Regions from separate parts of the Homo sapiens genome. Here region 2 is linked to region 1. The links are contacts of gene promoters, found by promoter capture Hi-C in human tissues and cell types (Jung and others, 2019). All regions are on one chromosome and are shown on one strand. The core of a region is centred on a gene start or on the middle of the fragment in contact, and the rest is flanking DNA. Distances in the headings are between cores, read along the strand shown. Region 1 holds the start of AUH (AU RNA binding methylglutaconyl-CoA hydratase). Region 2 has its middle 34 kb from the start of MIR3910-2.

What was found. Contacts are between HindIII fragments. The study calls those that stand out against the background at their distance.
Region 2: a fragment that was not itself captured here is called in contact with the fragment with the promoter of AUH in region 1 in 1 of the 25 tissues and cell types used here (heart right ventricle).

What each region holds. Positions count from the first base shown.
Region 1 is chr9:91,360,595-91,363,288 of GRCh38, reverse strand. It overlaps AUH (AU RNA binding methylglutaconyl-CoA hydratase), which reads left to right and starts at 1,371. Exons shown (of 10, transcript NM_001698.3): 1 at 1,371-1,661. The coding sequence starts at 1,400. RefSeq lists a silencer at 1,201-1,640. The HindIII fragment of the contact is 4,188 bases long and covers 1-2,694 here.
Region 2 is chr9:91,668,546-91,671,239 of GRCh38, reverse strand. No RefSeq gene overlaps it. Among named protein-coding and RNA genes, the nearest start is that of MIR3910-2, 34 kb to the right of the region's middle. The HindIII fragment of the contact is 3,927 bases long and covers 1-2,694 here.

The DNA of each region.
Region 1 (2,694 bases), core at 122-2,621:
GCCTGTGATCCCAGCTACTCAGGAGGCTGAGGTGGGAGGATCATTTGAGCCTGAGATGCAGAGGTTGCAGCGAGAGGCGATCACACCACTGCACTCCAGCCTGGCCGACAGAGCCAGAACCTGTCAAAAAATAAAAAATAAAAATAAAAATAAAAGTGCCTTCAACATCATTTTACAGCAGATGCAGTAATGGAATTCAGTCTACTTTTTGTTTCTACATTGGATAAAAGTTGAGGACATAATGAAGGATGTTTTGCTTAGGACTAAAAAATACAAGAAATTTCTGTGGCACTAGACGTATGCTCATAGCAGCACACTTTTCAAACAGTATTCTTTTTTTTTTTTTTTTTTTTTTTTGAGACAGAGTTTCACTCTTGTTGCCTGGACTGGAGTGCAATGGTGCAGTCTCAGCTCAGGGCAACCTCCGCCTCCCGGGTTCAAGCAATTCTCCTGTCTCAGCCTCCCGAGTAGCTGGGATTACAGGCGTGTGCCGCCACACCTGGCTAATTTTGTATTTTTAGTAGAGACAGGGTTTCACCACGTTGGCCCGGCTGGTCTCAAACTCCTGACCTCAGGTGATCCACCTGCCTCGGCCTCCCAAAGTGCTTGGATTACAGGCGTGAGCCACCGCCCCCTGCCCAGTATTCTTAAATGCAAGCTTTCCCATTAGAGATCTGATAAAAGCTAGGTAGCATTAATTATACTGCAACGTGCTTTGATGAGTACCTACACACTAAATTGATATCCCGAGTTTCTGGAAGAGCTACATACTCTAAATCCCATCTCAGCGTATGGCTTGTTTGAACCCCTGTAAGACTCTTTCCGTCCAGGAAGGGCCATGGGACATCGGTACGAGTGGGTGGGCTGGAGAAAGAACTCCTTTGCCTGTTTGCTGTTCTCATCCTTTTCCTGAACGCCACGTAGTAAACATCATTTATGCTTATCAGGGACGCTAAACCAACAACCTGAGATCCATAAGTAAGGCAGTGACCAACGATGGGCTGCCACACTTTCAGCCAACTTGAGGAGACAAAACTTTTTTGTTCACTTTTGCAGCTTACTTAACACAGGACCGCAGGGCATGGTCCAGGGAGTACGGGGAGATAATTCCCTCCGGGTGGTTCTTATAGAAAAGTCTTCCCTGAATTATTCCATAACCTTGGAAAACTACTTTCTTTCCTTTTGTATTGGACAAACCATCCAATCTCGCTTGGAGAATGGGGCAAGGCCTCGGGTCACCGGGCTTCGGCGGGGCAGTGAGGGGCGGGAACACGGCTCCGGAGGGCGGGGCCAAGCCGGAGCGAGGCGGCGGGTCCGGACGCCGTGCGCGTGCGCGCGGCAGGTCGGCGCCGGGCGGGGGCGGAGCGGCCGTCGCAGGTCCACGCCGTAAACAGACAACATGGCGGCCGCGGTGGCGGCGGCACCTGGGGCCTTGGGATCCCTGCATGCTGGCGGCGCCCGCCTGGTGGCCGCTTGCAGTGCGTGGCTCTGCCCGGGGTTGAGGCTGCCCGGCTCGTTGGCAGGCCGGCGAGCGGGCCCGGCGATCTGGGCCCAGGGCTGGGTACCTGCGGCCGGGGGTCCCGCCCCGAAAAGGGGCTACAGCTCTGAGATGAAGACGGAGGACGAGCTGCGGGTGCGGCACCTGGAGGAGGAGAACCGAGGTGAGGTGCGAACGCTGGGCAGGCGCGGGGCAGCGGGCGGCCGCTCGCTCTCAGGACGGGCATAAGGTGCAGCGTCCGCCGGCAGGACGCGGGGTCGAGGTCAGGCAGGCGCACCGAACCTGGGTCCCTCCCCTTTCTCACCTCCCTACTCACCCAGCGTGGCCGCTTCCTTGTGCACCTATTTCTTGCTTTTAATAACCTAAACGTGTACCCCCGAGCAGCTTACCTGTAAAGTGACCGCATTCAGCGCGGCAAACAGAAGTGCAGCTTACGCCCTCCGCTCCAGACAAGCCAAGGTCAATATATACCCTGGGGATTTAATCCTTGCTACCAGGCTTTATTGTTGCTGTGTAATGGCTTTCTGTAAACTCAGCTATTAGTGGTGGAGTTGTAAAAGCTGCGGTGAAACTGCCTTTTATTATTACGGAGAATCTTAAATTTGAAGCTGCTCAGCTGGAACAATTTTTCCTCTTGTTCATTTTCTCTTAGAAAGTTAGTCTTGAGGGACTGTTCCACTTCATTTAAACAATTTTGAGCACTTTTTATTTTCCTCAGCTCTGGCGATAAGAATGTGGATGGTATGGATCTTGCCCTTGAGCTACCTTCTACGGGAGGAGACATCATTAGCAATACAATACAGAGCTTTGAAGGCTTTGAAGGAGGCTGACAATCCTAGGGAATACTGTTACAGCTCAGTTCCTTTCACTGGCAGTGCAGGGAAAAGCTAAAAGGGTCGTGAAGGGTGGAATAGCAGTTTCCACCCTTAACCTCCGGGTTAAGCCAGAGGACCAGTGTTTTAATTTTGACATGCATTTGTTGAGCACCTATAATCTGTTAAGCAGAAGTGAAAAGCGTGTAAGTCGTGATTGGTTTTAGTGTAGTGAAGCAGATCCTGGTTATTAGTAGGCTGTGTGAACTTTCAAGGCATGGTAAGAGGAAAGGGCTGTAATACCTGCAGGGTTTCGCCATTTGAAAGGGGTTCCAAGGCATTCTTTAATAGGCAGTGGATTTTGCCATTTGTGAGGGTTCTTGG
Region 2 (2,694 bases), core at 85-2,584, 310 kb before region 1:
ACCAATAACAAGTTCTGAAATTGAGGCAGTAATTAATAGCTTACCAATAAAAAAAAACCCAGGGCCAGATGGATTCACAGCTGAATTCTACCAGAGGTACAGAGAGGAGCTGGTACCATTCCCTCTGAAACTATTCCAAACAATTGAAAAGGAGGGAATCTTCCCTAACTCATTTTATGAGGCCAGCATCATCCTGATACCAAAACCTGGCAGAGACACAACAACAACAACAACAAATAAACTTCAGACCAATATCCCTGATGAACATCAATGCAAAAATCCTCAATAAAAATACTGGGAAACCAAATCCAGCAGCACGTCAAAAGCTTACCCACCACAATCAAGTAGGCTTCATCTCTGGGATGCAAGGCTGGTTCAAAATATGCAAATCAATAAACGTAATCCATCACATAAAAAGAACCAATGACAAAAACCACATGATTATCTCAATAGATGCAATGCAGAAAAGGCCTTCAATAAAATTCAACATCCCTTCATATTAAAAACTCTCAATAAACTAGATATTGAACATTATCTCAAAATAATAAGAACTATTTATGACAAACCCACAGCCAATATTATACTGAATAGGCAAAAGCGAAGCATTTCCTTTGCAAACCTTCTGCACAGAAAAAGAAACTATCATCAGAGTGAACAGGCAACCTACAGAATGGGAGAAAATTTCTGCAATCGACCCATCTGACAAAGACCTAATATCCAGAATCTACAAGGAACTTAAACAAATTTACAAGAAAAAAACAACCCCATCGAAAAGTGGGCAAAGGATATGAACAGATACTTCTCAAAGGAAGACATTTATGCAGCCAACAAACATATGAAAAAAAGCTCAACATCGCTGATCATTAGAGAAATACAAATCAAAATCACAATGAGATACCATCTCATGCCAGTCAGAACGGCGATTATTAAAAAGTCAAGAAACAATAGATGCTGACGAGGCTGTGGGGAAATAGTGCTTTTACACTGCTGGTAGGAGTGTAAATTAGTTCAACCATTGTAGAAGACACTGTGGCAATTCCTCAAGGATCTAGAACCAGAAATAGCATTTGACCCAGCAATCCCATTACTGGATATATACCCAAAGGAATAGAGATCATTCTAGTATAAAGACACATGCACACGTATGTTTACTGCAGCACTATTTACAATAGCAAAGACATGGAACCAACCCAAATGCCCATTAGTGATAGACTGGATAAAGAAAATGTGGCACATATATGCCATGGAATACTATGAAGCCATAGAAAGGAATGAGATCGTGTCCTTTGCAGGGACATGGATGAAGCTGGAGGCCATCATCCTTAGCAAACTAACACAGGAACAGAAAACCAAACACGGCATGTTCTCACTCATAAGTGGGAGTTGAACAATGAGAACACATGGACACAGGGAGGGGAACAACACACACCGGGGTCTGTCAGGGGATGGGGGGTGAGGGGAGGGACAAATAACTAATGCATGTGGGGCTTAAAACCTAGATGACGGGTTGATGGGTGCAGCAAACCACCATGGCACACATATACCTATATAACAAACCTGCACGTTCTGCACATGTATCCTGGAACTTTAAAACAAACAAACAAACAAACACATTCTATAAAAGCAAAAAGTTAATACATTGGACTTTATCAAAAGTTAAAACTTTTGTTTTGCAAAAGACCCTGATAGGAACGTGGAAAGACAAGCTACTGGGATAAAATATTTGCAAGCCACATCTGGCGCAGGACTCATATCTAGAATAACAAAGAACTCTCAGAAATCAGCATTAAAAGACAACAATCCAACTGGAAAATGGACAAAAGGCAAGAAGAGGATATGCAGATAGAAAATGAGTGCTTGAAAAGGTATTCAACGTCAAACCATATTGGGATATCACTATACATTTATTAGGCCAACTAAACTTTAAAAATAATGGTAACTCTAAATGCTGGTGGAGAAGCAGAAAAACGGTATCTTTCATACATTGCTGGTGAGGATGTAAAATGATACAAGCATTCTATTTTTTGTTTTGTTTTGTTTTTTGATATGGAGTCTCACTCTGTCACCCAGGCTGGAGTGCAGTGGTGTGATCTCAGCTCACTGCAACCTCCGCCTCCTGAGTTCAAGTGATTTCCTGCCTCAGCCTCATGAGTAGCTGGGATTACAGGTGTGCACCACCATGCCCAGCTAATTTTTATATTTTTAGTAGAGACGAGGTTTCACCATGTTGGTCAGGCTGGTCTCAAACTCCTGACCTCGTGATCTGCCCGCCTCGGCCTCCCAAAGTGCTGGGATTACAGGCGTGAGCCACCGTGCCAGCCAATACAGGCATTCTTAAAAGTCATTTGGCAATTTCTTAGAAAACTAAGCTTACACTAACCATAAAATCTAGCCACTGATTTCCTGGGCTTTTATTTCAATCAGCTCAATGAAAACTTATATTTGCACAAAACCTATAAATAATTGTTTATAGCAGCCTTATTTGTATTACCAAAAAGTGGAAACAATGACAGGATTCCTCAATGGATGAATGGTTAAGCAAACTAGGATATATCATACATGGAATACTACTCAGAAATAAAAAAGAAAACAAGTTATTGAAACATACAATACTTGAATGGGTCTCAAAAACATGCTGAGCAAAAATGTCAATATCAAAAGGGCCAACACTGCATGATTTCGTATATATATAAA